Linked DNA regions of Homo sapiens: all the other regions are linked to region 4. Evidence: promoter capture Hi-C in 16 types of primary human blood cells and fetal thymus (Javierre and others, 2016). All regions are on one chromosome and are shown on one strand. Each heading gives the region's core, a stretch centred on a gene start or on the middle of the fragment in contact. The rest is flanking DNA. Distances are from core to core; before and after follow the strand shown.

Evidence for each region. The method cuts DNA at HindIII sites, captures the fragments that hold promoters and counts their contacts. A CHiCAGO score of 5 or more calls a contact.
Region 1: the fragment with the promoter of CA13 here is called in contact with the fragment with the promoter of WWP1 in region 4 in 6 of 17 cell types (activated CD4 T cells, M1 macrophages, neutrophils and 3 more); the score reaches 7.2 in activated CD4 T cells.
Region 2: a contact is called between a fragment that was not itself captured here and the fragment with the promoter of WWP1 in region 4, in 1 of 17 cell types (fetal thymus). The highest score is 6.2, in fetal thymus.
Region 3: a contact is called between a fragment that was not itself captured here and the fragment with the promoter of WWP1 in region 4, in 1 of 17 cell types (naive CD8 T cells). The highest score is 5.3, in naive CD8 T cells.
Region 5: a fragment that was not itself captured here is called in contact with the fragment with the promoter of WWP1 in region 4 in 1 of 17 cell types (monocytes); the score reaches 5.5 in monocytes.
Region 6: a contact is called between a fragment that was not itself captured here and the fragment with the promoter of WWP1 in region 4, in 8 of 17 cell types (fetal thymus, monocytes, total CD8 T cells and 5 more). The highest score is 9.6, in fetal thymus.

Annotation. Positions count from the first base shown.
Region 1 is chr8:85,244,087-85,246,786 of GRCh38, forward strand. CA13 (carbonic anhydrase 13) reads left to right here and starts at 1,372. Exons shown (of 7, transcript NM_198584.3): 1 at 1,372-1,779. The coding sequence starts at 1,743. RefSeq lists a silencer at 1,627-1,706 and an enhancer at 2,067-2,176. The HindIII fragment of the contact is 11,713 bases long and covers 1-2,700 here.
Region 2 is chr8:85,100,235-85,102,934 of GRCh38, forward strand. All of the region lies in intron 1 of LOC105375933 (a long non-coding RNA gene), which reads right to left. Among named protein-coding and RNA genes, the nearest start is that of LRRCC1, 5.7 kb to the right of the region's middle. The HindIII fragment of the contact is 3,894 bases long and covers 1-2,700 here.
Region 3 is chr8:85,187,575-85,190,274 of GRCh38, forward strand. The region is part of intron 1 of E2F5 (E2F transcription factor 5); the gene reads left to right. Among named protein-coding and RNA genes, the nearest start is that of E2F5, 12 kb to the left of the region's middle. RefSeq lists an enhancer at 2,306-2,375. The HindIII fragment of the contact is 704 bases long and covers 947-1,650 here.
Region 4 is chr8:86,341,108-86,343,807 of GRCh38, forward strand. WWP1 (WW domain containing E3 ubiquitin protein ligase 1) reads left to right here and starts at 1,440. Exons shown (of 25, transcript NM_007013.4): 1 at 1,440-1,823. It overlaps WWP1-AS1 (WWP1 antisense RNA 1), which reads right to left. Exons shown (of 6, transcript XR_007060994.1): 2 at 2,483-2,553; 3 at 1,975-2,169. RefSeq lists a silencer at 1,531-1,990. The HindIII fragment of the contact is 10,725 bases long and covers 1-2,700 here.
Region 5 is chr8:85,261,105-85,263,804 of GRCh38, forward strand. The region is part of intron 3 of CA13 (carbonic anhydrase 13); the gene reads left to right. Among named protein-coding and RNA genes, the nearest start is that of CA13, 17 kb to the left of the region's middle. The HindIII fragment of the contact is 1,204 bases long and covers 722-1,925 here.
Region 6 is chr8:85,208,097-85,210,796 of GRCh38, forward strand. E2F5 (E2F transcription factor 5) reads left to right here. Exons shown (of 8, transcript NM_001951.4): 6 at 1,046-1,313. Among named protein-coding and RNA genes, the nearest start is that of RBIS, 11 kb to the right of the region's middle. The HindIII fragment of the contact is 984 bases long and covers 841-1,824 here.

The DNA.
Region 1 (2,700 bases), core at 122-2,621, 1.1 Mb before region 4:
TAGAAATTATGGTTTAGGAGTCATACAGCTGGAGGCTGTATGATTCTGACCCTCCCCAAATTGCTCCTGGGAATAACATCACTATTGTAAAGCCTAAGACCAGTGCTTCAGATATGTTGCAGACCCTGCACTGGATGGATCAGCAGGCACCACTCAGCTCGATAAACTGGCTCATCTGATCCCATGGCCCCCACCCAGGAACTGACTTAATGCAAGACAGCTTTGACTCCCTATGATTTCACCTCTGACCCAAACAACCAGGTCTCCCGACTTACTGGCTCTCCTCCACCCACCAAATTGTCCTTAAAAACTTTGATCCCCAATGCTTGCGGAGACTGATTTGTGTAATAATAAAACTCCAGTCCTCTGCACAGCCGGCTCTACGTGAATTTCCCTTTATGAATTGCAATTCCCCTGTCTTGATAAATCAGCTGTGTCTTGACAGTGGGCAAGGTAAACCCATTGGGTGGTTACAAACTGTGTACCCAAGCAATAAAAGTAACAATTTGGGAAGTATTTGAGACCCACCAACCAAAATTTCTTTAACAATTTTGGTCTATTCAGTCATTCATCCATTCATGTAACCACTATTATTGGGTGTCAAGAACTGATACTTACTTAGAACGTTAAGAGCATTATTCATCTTGACATACCAAATCATCCGAGTTACTGAAAATTGGTTTACTAGGTTCCTTACAAAGAGGTTGCTTGGATTTATAAAATATGAGGCAGTTGACCCGAGACAAGGACGTAGAAAGTGGTTCATGTACCCAATTTTTATTTTTCACTTTGAACCCAGAACATTCACGACTCCAGGCCAGAAATTCAAGACTCTGCAGCTAGTTCTGACTCCAGTCCTAGGGTAACAAGCCCACCAAGAATCCAGGGCAGATGTCCTGAAAACCCTTCTTGCGGGGTCAGGAGGGCAGCAGAATTTTGGGACCAAATCTCAACAACTGGTTTTGGTTTCCTCACTCACCAAGCCACAAGCCTGCAGAGTGAGAAGAGGTAAGGAAAGGATGAATGGGCAATGGAGCCAGCCCAGGACCGGGAGCTGGTCCTCTCTAACAGCGACCCCGCCCGCTTTAGCTGAGCGACCCGGGGCAGGTTACATAGTGTCTCTAACTTAAGCCACGTGTTTCTCGAGGAAATGCTGAGAGGATCTAATGGGAAAACGTGGGTACACGTCTTAGCTAAGACCCTCGCCCACGATAAGCCCTTAATAAGTAGTTATTTTTCAGTGGTGGTGATTACCATCGTCATTATTGTTTTGTATTTGTAATCATCACTGCCACGACCATCACCGACCTCTTTTACGCCTCCACCGGGATCCCCACCTCCCAGCCTGGCAGTTCCAGGCTCTGGTGACTCATTCACTTCCTGGAAGTCCTCTAGGCAACACTTTCCTCTCCCGAGTGACGACTCCTCAGAAGGCAGGAGATCCCCCCCGGAAACCTTTCTCTCTCCGTCTCTCCCTCTAACTCAAATCTCTCATTCCCGAGTCCAAACTAAGAGAGACTCGCGCCCCAGGAGTCAGCCAGCGGCGCGGGCGCCTTCCCCGCACGCCTCTGCCGTCTGGAGGACGCAGGCGGGAGCGCCCCGGACCGGGTTCACGGTCTCGCACTCCTGCCGCCGGCGCCCCGCGGTCCCGCCCTAGCAGGCTCCTTCCCGGGCCCCTCCCCGCTCCCTCCTCTTTCTCGCTGCTCAGTCACATCTTTCTCTTCCTTCCACCCCGAGGGACCATGTCGAGGCTCAGCTGGGGATACCGCGAGCACAACGGTGAGCGCCTTTTCCTGATCCAAGGGGGGGTTTGTGCGGGGGACGAGAGGACTAGCGCGACGCCCCGGCGCTCGCTGACCACACACTGGGCTCGCACATTGAGAAACTTTTTCGGTTCCTCTTTAAACTAAGCAGCACTCCTGGGAGCCCAGTGCGAGAAGCGGAGAGCAGTCTTGTCAGGGTAGACGGGTTGTTGGTGGTGGATGTGAGCGTTGGTGTGTGTTATCTCTGTCAGGATTCCCCAAACTCCCAAGTGTTCATACGTGTGAGTTCACCTTCATCTGAAAAGCCAAGGACTTTGCCTAGTAACAGCCACGTATCAATTACAGGCTTGGAGATCAGAAGTCTGATGACACACTTCAGTGAAATAAGGACAAGTTCGCTTTCAGTCTTTTAAGCTCACTATTCACTTAGGAGAAACAAATCATAGAAAATCTTTAAAAATATATTTAGGAAATCTTAACTTGCATTGTGACACTGAAGATTAAGTTGGCTTCGTGGCAAACAAAATACTGCATGTTTCCTAATAGTTGTTACTGTAAATATTCCCACAGCAATTTGCAGTTGGCTGACTACTACTGGGGACTTTAGTAAGGGTTCAGGTTCTCGCTGGGAAATTAAGTTACATTGTGGGTTACTTCTCCACTCTTCTTCTCCACGCTCATCCTTGCAGGGTGAGCAAAGGATTACTGAAATTATAATTCATTGATAGAAATGTATTAATAGGATAAATAATAATGACATACACTTTTCTTCTTGTATATCACACATTATCAAAAGTAAAACATTTTTTCTTGTTCCTACGTTAAACTGAACTGATTGTTTAAATAATAATTATTTGAAATAATCGCAGTGACACCAAAAAGCCTTATAGTGAATAACTGTCAAAATTAAGGCTTAGTTTAGCCATTCCTCAATGTG
Region 2 (2,700 bases), core at 96-2,595, 1.2 Mb before region 4:
AGAAAGTTTAAGTCCTCTCTTCTAGCTATTTTGAAAGATACACTACAGGCCGAGCGTGGCGTCTCACGCCTGTAATCCCAGCACTTCGGGAGGCTGAGGTGGGTGGATCACTTGAGGCCAGGAATTCGAGACCAGCCTGGACAACATGGCGAAACCCTGTCTCCACTAAAAATACAAAAATTAGTTGGACGTGGTGGCACGCGCCTGTAATCCCAGCTACTCAGGAGGCTGAGGTAGGAGAATACTTGAACCCAGGAGGTGGAGGTTGCAGTGAGCCAAGATCTCCCCACTGCACTCCAGCCTGGGAGACAGAGCAAAACTCTGTCTCAAAAAGAAAGAAAGAAAAAGAAACATACACTACATTGTTGTTACCTCTAGGCATCCTATTCTGCTATCGAACATTAGAACTTATTTCTCCTAACTGTATGTTTGTGCTCATTAACCAATCTCTCTTCATCCATCCTCCCCAACCCACACACCCTTCCCATCCTGTTATCTATCATTCTACTTTCTACCTCTATCTCCATGGGATCAACTGTTATAGCTCCCACATATGAGTGAGAACATGTGATATTTCTCAATCTGTGCAGAGCTTATTTCACTTAACATAATAACCTCCAGATCCATCCGTGTTTCTGCAAATGACAAGATCTCATTTTTTATGGCCAACTAGTAATCCATTGTGTTTATATACCACATTTTCTTTATGCATTCATCTGTTGATGGACATTTAGGTTGACTCAATATCTTTGCTTTTGTGAATAGTGCCACAATGAACATGAGAGTGCAGGTATCCCTGTGATATAATGATTTCTTTTCCTATAGATAATTACCCAGTAGGGGAATTGCTGGATCATACAGTAGTTTTATTTTTAGTTTTATGAGAATTCTCCATACTGTTTTCCATAGTGGCCCCATTAATTTACATTCCAACCTATAGTGTATAAGAGTTCCCTTTTCTCCATATTCTTGCCAGAATCTGTTACCTTTTCTCTTTTTTAATAAAAGCAATTCTAACTGGGTAAGATGGTATCTCATTCTGATTTTGATTTGCATTTCCCTGATGATTAACGACAAGCATTTTTTTCATATACCTGTTGATCATTAGTATGTCTTCTTTCTAAAAATGTCCATTTGTGTTCTTTGCCCACTTTTCAATGGAATTTTTTTTTTTTACTGTTGAGTTGTTTGAGTTCCTTGCATATTTTAGATATTCATCCCTTGTTGGATAAATAGTTTACAAATATTTTCTTCCATTCAGCAGATATCCTAAGTCTTGATGGTTTTCTTTGCTGTACAGTTTTTTCAATTTTAACATAGTCTCATTTCTCTATTTCTGTTTTTGTTATCTATGCTTTTCCTGTCTTAGCCATAAAATCTTTGCCTAGACAAATGTTCTGAAATATTTTCCCCATTTTCTTCTAGTAGCTTTATAATTCGAGGTCTTACATTTAAATTTATAATCCATCTTGAGCTGCTTTTTATATATGGTGAGAGACAGTAGTCCAATTTCATTCTTCTGCATGGATATCCAATTTTTCCAGCACCATTTATTAAAGATGATATCTTCTCTACAATGTATGTTCCTGGCACTTTTGTCAAAAATCAGTTGGTTTTAAGTATGCAGGTTTATTTCTGGGCTCTCTATTCTGCTCTATCAGTCAATGTGTCTGTTATAATACCAATGCCATGCTGTTTTGGTTACCATAGCTGTGTAATATGGTTTGAAGTCAGGTAGTGTGATGCCTTCAGCTTTATTCTTTTTGCTCAGGATTACTTTGGTTATTCAAGCCCTTTGTTGATTCTATACACCAATTTTATGATTCTTTTTTCTATTTCTGTGAAAATTGACGTTGGCATTTTGATAGAAATTGCATTGAATTTGTAGATTGCTTTGGGCAGTATGGTCGTTTTGCCAAGGTTGATTCTTCTGATACATGAGCTTGAGATGGCTTTCTGTTTGACTGTGTCCTCTTCAATTTCCCTCATCAGTCTTTTGTAGCTTTTCTTGCAGAGAAAAGCTGCCTTTCACATCCTTGGCTAAATTTATTTCTAAGTCTTTTATTTTTATAGCTATTGCAAATGGGATTGCCTTCTTGGTTTCTTTATCAGCTTGTTCATTATTAGTGTATAGAAATGCTACATTTGTGTATGTTAAAATTCTATGCTGCAACTTTCCTGAATTTATTTATCAGATCTAAGAGTTTTTTGGTAGAGTCCTTAAGTTTCTCTAGATATAAGATTATGCCATTTGCAAACAGGGACGATTTGACTTTCTCTTTTCCAATTTCAATGTCTTTTTATTTCTTTATATTGCCGATTGGTCTAGCTATAATTTCCAGTAGTATGTCAAATAAGAGTGCTGAAAGTGGGCACACTTGTCTTGTTCCAGTTCTTAGAGGAAAGGATTTCAACTTTTTCCCATTCAGGATGATGTTAGCTGTGAGTTTTTCATATACGGCCTTTATTATATTGAAGTATGTTCTTTCTATGCCTAGTTTGTTGAGAGTTTGTATCATGAAAAGACTGAGTTTCATCTAATGCGTTTTCTGCATCTACTGAGATGATCTTATGGATTTTGTCCTTCATTCTGTTGATATGATGTATCACATGTGTTCATTTACATATATTGAACAATTCCTGCATCCCTGGAATAAATCCCACTTGATTATCTAGTATCTGTTTGATGTGCTGTTGGAT
Region 3 (2,700 bases), core at 49-2,548, 1.2 Mb before region 4:
AAATCTATTTAATCTGATATATGTATAGCCACTTCTGCTTTCTTTTGGTTTCTATTTGCATGGAGTATCATTTTCTGTTCTTTCATTTTCAGTCTACGTCCTTACAGGTGAAGCAAGCCTCTTATAGGCAGCATAAGTTGAGTGTTTTTAAAAATCCATTTAACTACTTTGCCTTTTTATTGGAGAACTTAATCCACTTACGTTCAGGGTTATCATTCATAGGTAAGTAGTTAATACTGTCATTTTGTTGTTTTCTAGTTGTTTTGTAGATATTTTCTTCCTTTCTTTCTATCTTCTTTTGTGGCTAAATTATGTTGTTGTCTAGTGGTATGTTTTGATTCCTTGCCTTTTTATGTATCTGCTATAGGTTTTTGCTTTGTTGTTACCATGAGGCTTACAAAAAAATATCTTACAATGCGGTATTTTAAGCTGATAACAAGTTTGATCGCAAAAACAAACAAACAAAAAGAAACCTAACAAGCCTCTATGCTTTTATTCCAGTCCCCTCCTCACATTTTGAATATTTGATGTCACAAGTTTTATCTTTTTATATCGTCTATTGCTTAAAAATTATTGCAGCTACTATGATTTTTAATAGTTTTGTCTTTTAACTTTTACACAAAATCCAGAATACTTTAATTCTGTGATGATGCTGCATAAATTGCTTATATCTTTAGTCAGTGTACTTACTTTTAAGTGAGTTTTAGACTTTCAGATTGTTTTGTGTTACTCCTTAGCATCCTTTTTTTTTTTTTTTTTTTGGAGATTGAAGACTTCCCTTTACCATTTTTTGTAAAACACTTCTGGTAGTCATGAACTCCCTTATCTTCTGTTTTTCTGGAACAGGCTTTATCTCTTCTTCATTTCTGAAGGACAGCTTTGTGGGGTTTGGTATTCTTGGCTGGCAGGGTTTCTTTCAGCACTTTGAGCACTGAGGCAGGCCAGAAGCTTTTGGCAGATGTGGCCAGCACAGGAGTGGTGCAATCTGAAGCCAAAGTTCACTGAGATATCCCTGGTATTGTGAGCTGTCCAGAGCCCTGGACTGCTGACATCAGCCTGGCATTGGTGCAGCCCAGAGATTGAGTTTGCCTTGAAAGCCTGAAGCCTCGGGTTATGTGATCCTGCTTGGCACCAGGCTGGATCTAGAGCTTCAGTCTATGCGCACTAGCCTGGAACATGGGGTTGTGGTGGTCTCACCAGTGTTAGGTTTTACTTTGGCAATCCTAGCATTGGAGCTAAAGGTATGGTGTCTCTCTCCTTGCTGTGCTTCCTAGGGTTGAGGGAAGGATGACGGGGTAATATAAAACTGCCCTTCTTACCCTCTTCAATGTGACTTTTCTTATTATTGTGCTGCAACCAGATAGTGTAATCTCTTATATGGCTTATTTAGCTCTTGTGAAGGTATGTTATAGTATGGATGCTTGTTCAAATTGGTGTTTCTGCTGGGGAAAATTGCTGAAGCGTCCTACTCTGCCATCTTGCTCCATCCCTTCCTAAATAAATCATTGTTTTAATTTCACCAGTAAAGACTGACTGTCCTCAATTATGAGTAAGTTTCCTCTTACATCTTAATATTTTTGTGAAAGTGAGGATATACTTTCTGATGTTCCTTTTCCAACCTAAAATACAATTACTGAAGTATCAGTAGAAAGCTTGGGAAAAGGTTAATATACTCTAGAGTAAAACTTGCCCAGTATGCAACCACTCACAGAGAACCACTGTCAACAATTTTTAGTATTTCCCATTTCTTGCAACTTTTTATAGCTGAGATCAAATGTTTATTGTTCCTACTTATTAATATTATTATTATTATTTTTGAGGCAGAGTCTCTGTGACCCAGGCTGGAATGCAGTGGTGAGATCTTGGCTTACTGCAACCTCTACCACCCAGGCTCAAGCGAGTCTCCTGCCTCAGCCACCCAAGTAGCTGGAATTATAGGTGTGAACCACCATGCCTGGGTAATTTTTGTGTATTGGTAAAGATGGGGTTTCATCATGTTGGCTAGGCTGGTTTTAAAGTCATGGCCCCAAGTGATCCACCCGCCTCAGTCTCTGAAAGTGCTGTGATTGTAGGCATGAGCCACTGCACCCAACCTCTTTTTCCAAATTGTAAACATGATTTATAATGTCTTCATAATTTTGATCTGTCACATTACCCAGAATTAACCATTCTTATTAGTAGGTATATAAGTTTTTATGTTTTTTTCCTATTTCATACAATGAATATGTATTCACAAATGTGTGCCCCGTTGTTCTTTATTTTAGTAGCTTCCAGATTATAATTATCAGAAAAAGTCAGAGAAATGGGCAGTTCCACGCTTTTCACACTGTGAGGGGTGTTTGGAAGCACCTACCTGAGCCTTACGCTTCAGGGAGTAGCTGGGAGCTGACCTAGGAACTCCGGGACTCAAAAGCCAGATGTCATCAATATATATACAATTTAAGAATTTAAGGTTATATTATACCTCTACTTAGAACAACGTTCAGACACCTACAAGATCCTGCCTAGTCTGGCCCTCCTTCCTCTGCCACCTCGTCTATGCACTCCCTCTTAGATGACTCCAGTCTCACTGACTGTCTTTCAGCACTCTCACATGCCCTCTCCTCCTGCCTCAGGGCTGCTGCACAGGTGTTTCCTGCTGCCTGAAATGGACTTCTGCACGTGTGTGAAAACACACACACACACACCCCACCACCACCA
Region 4 (2,700 bases), core at 190-2,689:
TCTGGAGAAGGAGTCCAGATCCCTGCTGGGGAATACCTACGGAATTTCTGAGGACGTGTTTGTAAGCACATTATTGCATCTATTTAAAGGGACCAGACAGCAAAAGCAAAAAGATGAAGAAAATCTTAGTACATGTTTAAAGCAGAGATGAGTGGGCACATATGGGGCACTGTGAAGAGTTTTTCATAACAGGAGAGATAGAGCATGTGAGCATCAAAGGAACCTTGAATATCACGTTAATCTTTGTCAGGAGAGCTCCGAAAAGCCAAAGAATGATTTTAAGCAGTGGAATGACACAGATGTATATTTTCGAATGATCTTTGTGGATATAATGTGCACCAATTTCAACTATGAAGCCAGAGGACAAGAACTAATGCATGGAGGTAGGCGGGAATGTGCATTGTTCAGTCAAGAGATACTTGTTGAATTCTGTACACACTCATGAAGTGTTGGGGTTGTTTTTGGTACACAGTTCTTTCAAAAAGCTCAGTTAAAATGGAAGGGGAGAGAGAACCAGAGGTTTTAAAATCAAGGGAAAATTTAGGACCTAATCTTAAAACGTGATTATGCTGAGGAGTTGTAGGCAGTGGAGAGGGTGAAGTTAAAGATGTGCCAAGGACCGCCCACAGTGGGGAGCAGGCAGTGGAGAGGAGCAGGGACATCTAGCCTCCGAGATAGAAGGAAAACTAGTAAGTCTGGGTGTGGACGTAGATATAATCTATGGGGGTTGGTCAGGTGGTTGGGCAAAAGCTGTAGAAATCCATGCCTGAAGGCTTCTGCTTCTCTGAAGTAGAAACCGGGTCACCTGGTAAGCAATGTGGTCCCACTGACTTCTATTTGCACATTGGCCTTTCTTCTAAAAGCAATACACATAACCAACAGTACTTTTCTAAACTAGTTGACTTTTCTGTAAAATGCAGACAGTAGACACTACTTTGTCAGATTGTTGTGTGCGTTAATTGTGCGGACACGTATACTCGGTCAATAAGTATCTGCTTTATCACCGGGCTGATGTGAGTGAGGACTAGGTGGTGGGGCTTCCACAGATGAACGTTTTGATTAATAAAAAATGGACTGAAAGTCTTCGGGTATGACCAATGGCTAAATGCAATTATTTACTCTTGCAATGTGTTCGAGGTCACCCAGCTAGGTCAAGGAGTATTTATGGACAGCCTACTTTTGCCCCCGGACCTTAAGAAGTCCTGCTCCGGGATCAGCCGCCGACCGGAAAGTCAAATTAGCAGTGCCCAGCGCGAGCTTAGAGCAGCCTCTTCCCAAATCTCAGCGGCGGCCCCGCCCCTTCCACACGTTCAGGCCCCGCCCCTCCCTACTATTGGCTGTCCGTCCCCCTCCGCTAGACTGCTCGGAAGACCCGGAGGAGCGGAGTTTTCCTAAGGCAGCATCCGAGCGCCCTCGCTGCGCATGCTCGGGGGAGGCGGATTCCGGGTCCGGAGTTGGAGGCTTTGGGCGGCCGCGGCGTAGCGCGCGGTGCCGGGGCCGGCGGGGAGGCGCGCGCTTAGGGCGCGGCGCCGGCGACGCGGCCACGCGGCGCGCTCCCGAGGAAGGGAGGTGTGGGGTCGGCTGGGGGTGGCGCGTGGACGGGGTGGGGGTGGGGGGAGGGTCGGGTGTCGGCGAGCTCCGCGTGCGGGTTCCGAGTGGCTGCTGGCGGCCTGGGCTGCCGGGGCCGACGCCTGGGTGGCTGCTGCCGCCGCGCCTGCTGCGAGATGGCGATCTTGGGCGCGGAAGGGTGAGGGCGCCCGCCGCAGGAGGAGGTGCCGCTGCCGTGGCCGCCCGGCTGCCGGGAGCCGACAGCTTCGCGCCGGGTAAGGACGGCGCGGCGCGGGGCTGGGGGTGCGAATGGGCAGGGCGGGAGGGGGCACGGGCCCTGAGCCTTGGCCGCGGTGCTGGGCGCCCGGCGCCGTCCGCCCCCGGGCTGGACCCTCCTAGGACCCGTCGGGGGACGGTCCGCCCTACCTTGGCTACCTTCTCCAGCCCGGGAGTCGGGAGTTTTCTGGGGTGGGGTCACGGGTCTTGCCCGGAGTTCGCCCTGGCAAAGGCCTGTGCCAGTGATCCTGGAGCGGAGCGAAGTGTTTCCGTGACTCTGCAGCCGCAGTTCTTAGGCTTCCTTAGCCTTCTCTTCGCCTTCCTCCACCTTTCCCTAACACCTCCCTGAAAACACAAATACATGGACTCATTGCCCGTTCCCTGACTTTCACCCCAATTTCAGCGTTGCAAACCAAGGACTCCAGCTTTGGAACGTCTTTTTCTGACATGTTTTTATCACTCTCCGTTCTTCACCGACTCTGCAGCTCCCCATCCCCCGCCCCCCCAGCGCAACCCCCACCTCCACCTTTTGTGACCTGGTAGGTTCCAGTGACCTTGCAGATTTTACCAGTCCTTATCTTGTCTGTGACTTACAGACTCTCCTTTCATCTTCGTGTTCTTTTTTTAAAAAAATTTAATTTTGTAGTTTGCTCCTTACCTTTACGACCTTTAAATGATCAGTCTTGTTCACAGTCCTTTCTTTGCTCTGCCGATTTGGAGTTTTCTCTGCTGTGGTAAATATATGAAACCTTCATTACCAAAGAAGAGTAGTGTCTGTTATAATTTTGACATTTTTACTCTTTCAGAATAAAATATTTTCCAGGGGCTTGATTTTGCCTTCTTTTTCTATTTGATAAGTTTAACAAATTTTTTTCT
Region 5 (2,700 bases), core at 74-2,573, 1.1 Mb before region 4:
AATTATCTTTTATTTATTTATTTATTTTAAAGCAAACCAGTGAAGGAAAGGACCAAAACCTTTGGTTCACTTATGTATTTATAAATGGAAAAAATTTATAATGCAAATTTCACTTATTAAAAAACTTAGGTACAACTTACAACATTACAGATAATTATTTTCCCTTCTTTTGTTTCACATGGAGACCTTGGAGACTCAATTCATGTTAAGACACCTAAGTATGAGTCCTCCAGGTAAATATTACACAAATCAGAAGCATCTTGGAATTTTTAAGTATATTTTAAGACATACATTTTTATGCATGCTTTAAACAAACAGTATTTTATTTATTTTTTTTTTGAGACAGAGTTTTGCTCTTGTTGCCCAGGCTAGAATGCGATGGTGCGATCTTGGCTTACTGCAACCTCTGCCTCCTGGGTTCAAGTGCTTCTCCTGCCTCAGCCACCCGAGTAGCTGGGATTACAGGCATGCGCCACCATGCCTGGCTAATTTTGTATTTTTAGTAGAGACAGGGTTTCTCCATGTTGGTCAGGCTGGTCTCGAACTCCCAACCTCAGGTGATCTGTCTGCCTCGGACTCCCAAAGTGTTAGGATTACAGGCGTGAGCCACCGCGCCCGGCCAGTGTATATATATATATATGTTTGTTTGTTTTTAAATGAGAGAATCTAACAAAGAAACTATGACCAGCACCAGCATTTAAAGATAAAGCTTTGTGGATAAAGCTTGGAATAGATTTTCTTTTTTCTTTCTTTTTCTTTGAGACAGGCTCTCGATCTGTTGCCCAGGCTAGAGTGCCATGGTACAAACATGGCTCACTGTAGCTTTGACCTCCTGGGTTCAAGGGATCCTCCCACCTTAGCCTCCAGAGCAACTGGGACCACAGGTGGGCACCACTACATCTGGCTAATTATTTTTTATAGAGACAGAGTCTGGCCATCTTGCCTAGGCTGGTCTGAAACTCCTTGAATGCATATTAAAGAACAGTATACAATTCCAAGGGTGGGTGCAGTGGCTCATGCCTGTAATCCCAGCACTTTGGGAGGCCAAGGAGGGATGATTGCTTCTTATTTCATTGGCTTATATATTCATTCATTCTTTCACTCAGTAAGAATTCATTGAGAATCAACCATGCTCCTAATCTTTACACAGCTTACTGATGCTTACCCTGAAAGGAGTGCAGCCTCACACATATTTGAGGTCAGAAAATGCTGCCCTGTGGGATAGGCATCCGTTTTAAGTTAAACCTGGTTTAACTTAAAACCTGGTTTGGTTGAAGGGGAGGGAACTAGGTCAAGTGGGGGGACAGCAGTGGTTTTGCATAAAATCATGTGTGAGGATGTGGGTTGGGAAGGAGGCTCATACATTTGAAAAACAGTATGGCCTTTAACAGTGTAGTTGGAGCTTGGAGAATGAAGGGGAGAGTTGTCAGAGGCAAAGTTGGAGAGGCTGGGAAGGGCCTGATCTTACTGAGGTAAGTCCTGGTAAGGTTTATGAAGGTGATTCTAAGTGCAATGGGAAGCCACTGAAAGGCTTTCCATTGGGAAGTGGTGATATTTGCATTTCAAAAATAATTCAACTACTGTTTGAGAATAGATTGGATGGAAGCAGGAGTGGCTAAGGGGAGCTTTGGAGGAAACTTTTGGGGAAAGTTCCAGGCAATAAATGAGAGTGCAGGTAGAGGCTGGCTGGCTGGCAGTGGCAGCTTTAGTGGCATTTGTCGATTGGTGGGTTTGAGAGTGAGGGAGGGCAGGATCCATGTTTCTAGGTTGAGATAGGAAATGCAGATAGAGAAAGTCTGGGTCAAACCTCAGGCTTGGTGGGGTGGGAGAGGTAGACAATAAGCAAATAAATAAATGGTGCATGGTAAGTTCTTTGATGGGAACAATACCATGTGATCTGGTAGAGTGGCTGAGGGCTTAGGAAAAGCTTCTTTGAGGTGATACATGAGTTGAGACTGACTGATAAGAAGAAAGCATTAAGAGAAAAATCTAGAGAGACCTTTCCAGGAAGTGGGAGCAGCAAGCTCAAGTTCTCTAAGGCAGGAGTGAGGCTGGCATGTTCAAGAGGAGAAAGTCATTGGCCTATTAGGATTGGAATTAATGAGAAAGGAAAAGTTATGTGCTCTGTCCTGATGAGGCAGGCAGGGACCATGCCACATCGGGTACTGTTGGGCATTGTAAGCAGTCTGAAGTTTATCTGTAATGCAGTGGGAAGAAGACAATGGAAGGTTTTGATCAGGGGAATGACATGTTCTGCTTTATATTTTACAAAATATAACTAGCTGCTGGGTAGAGAGGAGGCCGCTGTCAGGCAAATGTTGAAGTAGGGAGAAAAACTAGAAGGTTATGGAAGTCATTCAAGTGAGCAGTGACAGTAATTTGGACTCTGGGGGTGGTGGAGACGAAGAGAGCTGGACAAATCTATGATGTTTGGGAGATAAAGTCAATAGGGTTTGCTGATGAAAAGGATGTCATGATTGAAGGAAGGAAAAACAGGAGTTTAGAAACACTCTTAAGGTTTCGATGTAAGCATATTGGAGGCTGGTGGTGCCATTTACTGAAATGTGCAAGTCTGGGAAGGAGCAGGTTGCAGAGAGGAATTCACTCTCTGTTTTAGACAGGTTAAGTTTGAGATGTCTGTTAGGCATTCTAGGCTCATGTTCAAGTAGGCTATTGGATAAAAACTTCCAGTTTAAGAAG
Region 6 (2,700 bases), core at 83-2,582, 1.1 Mb before region 4:
GGCAGGTGGATCACTTGAGGTCAGGAGTTTAAGACCAGCCTGACCAACATGGTGAAACCCCATCTCTACTAAAAATACAAAATTAGCCGGGCATGGTGGTGCATGCCTGTAATCCCAGCTACTTGGGAGGCTGAGGCAGCAGAATTGCTTCAACCTAGGAGGCAGTGGTTGCAGTGAGCCGAAATCGCGCCATTGCACTCCAGCCTGGGCAACAAGAGTGAAACTCTGTATCAAAACAACAACAACAACAACACATCTACAATTGATATAAAAATTGCCACTGAGGAAAAAGTTCAATGTACATATCAACAATCAATTCCTTTAAATTAGGTCTTTTATAAAACATTGTCTGGCTTATTAAGTCAAAGACATTTATTGACTCTATGAGTTTCATGATTTTCGTTTTCAGATTCAGATTTTTAAAAACAAACTAATTTGAAAGCAATAACCAAAAAAGGGAGTAGAAAAAGATTACTATATTATCTACCTCCTTCCCCCACCCGCTTATTAAAAAAGTTTACATTTAGGCATTTGTATTACTGGAGTCTGAAGCCTCAGGATACAGATTACTTTTTCAGCTGGAAGAATGTTATATTTATTTCTCAGTAGGAGAAATTAGTTGTCTTTGTGCTTGCAGATGGGAAAAAAAAGAGTTTGATTTGTGAAGCATGTTGAACTGACCAGATCTGTGGTGGCCAACTCCAGGGGATAAATTTCCTGTATATGGAGAATACCTGGAGCATTGCTGGGCCCTGACCTATTATATAGTCACACACGGTAACAACAGATGGTTGCCAGAATTCTACAACAGAGAGTTTCTAATGATCAGTATTTGTGAAAAGCTTACTTTTTAGAAACTAGTGGTTTAGAGCCCTCAAAATTACATTCTACTCTATGTCTCTACTTTTGTGTTTTGACTTAATGACTTTATTGTGTTATGTGAATTTAGTAAGTCCCTAATAGCTTTGCCTGTCTTATTGTACTGTCTTAAGTTAGCTAGAAATGTTAATAATTATACATTTGTTTATACCCAATAACTTCAAAGGGTCAGAATGGACAAAAGAAATACCAGATCAATCTAAAGAGTCATTCAGGACCTATCCATGTGCTGCTTATAAATAAAGAGTCGAGTTCATCTAAGCCCGTGGTTTTTCCTGTTCCCCCACCTGATGACCTCACACAGCCTTCCTCCCAGTCCTTGACTCCAGTGACTCCACAGAAATCCAGCATGGCAACTCAAAATCTGCCTGAGCAACATGTCTCTGAAAGAAGCCAGGCTCTGCAGCAGACATCAGCTACAGATATATCTTCAGGTGGGTTCAGAGCCTTTCTTTTGTAAATTAGAGAGGGAGAAATATAAAAACAGGTTGGCTCTCTTATCCAAAGTGCTTGTGACCAGAAATGTCCCAAGCACTTTTGACATTTTGGAATATTTGCATATACATAATAACATATCTTGGGGATAGGACCCAAGTCTAAACACAGTATTCATTTGTTTCATACACACCTTATTCACATAGCCTGAATATAATTTTATACAATAGTTTTAATTTTTGCATGAAACAAAATATTGACTGTGGCTTGACTGCAGCCTATCACAAGGTCAGGTGTGGAATTTTCCATTTGTGGCATATGTAGATTTCAGCTTTTACCTGAAGTTTACTTGGTAAGGTTCTTTTATCTCTCTTAGTAAGTCTAGGATAAATTAGTGAAATATGTTCCAACTACCTTTAAGAAAATATGTTCCAACTATCTTTAAGTATGGACCATAGTGACTTATGCCTCTTGTTTCTCCATATTCTTTGTTATACTTTTTATTTGGGAAGCTTAGTTTTATAGAAGTGATAAATGGTCTCAACTCCAATTATGTAGGAAATCTTACTTTCCTCATTTGTTTCATTTATGAAATTTTAAAAAGCTAAAACATTTCACACTGGGTATCAGGAGTAGAGAGCACAACTCTTAATTTGGCAGTACCTTACTGATTCCAAATAAAGGGAGCATGGTAGGCAATCTCTCAGTGACTACTGAATGAATGAATGAATGAATGGTGCCAATATAGACATCATATTGCAGATAATTTAAAACTATATTGTATATAATCCAAATTGTTTATTTTACCTCTAGGATGTGTCTCATTGCTAAAATGGGATTTCACAGGTTAAAAGTGACGCTAACAAGATATAACTGGACATGGAATGTTTTTTAGCTTCTTTTTGCCCACATCTATTCCTTTCTTTCCCCTATAAATATGTCTATACTACAGACCATTAGGATGCACAATAGAAAAGGTAGTGCTGGCTGGGCGTGGTGGCTCACAACTGTAATCCCAGCACTTAGGGAAGCCAAGGCAGGCAGATTACCTGAGGTCAGGGGTTCGAGACCAGTCTTGCCAACATATAGTGAAGCCCTGTCTCTACTAAAAAATACAAAAATTAGCTGGGTGTGGCGGCGCACACCTGTAGTCCCAGCTACTTGGAAAGCTGAGGCAGGAGAATTGCTTGAACCCAGGAGTTGGAGGTTGCAGTGAGCCGAGATCGCACCACTCCAGTCTGGGCGACAGAGTAAGACTCCATCTTAAAAAAAAAAAAAAAGAAAATGTAGTCCTTAAAAAGCTTACAATCTAATTAGGATATAAAGCAGGCAAGCTTTACATGGGTTTTACCTGGGTTAGCTTAGACATAATTAACACACTGGCTT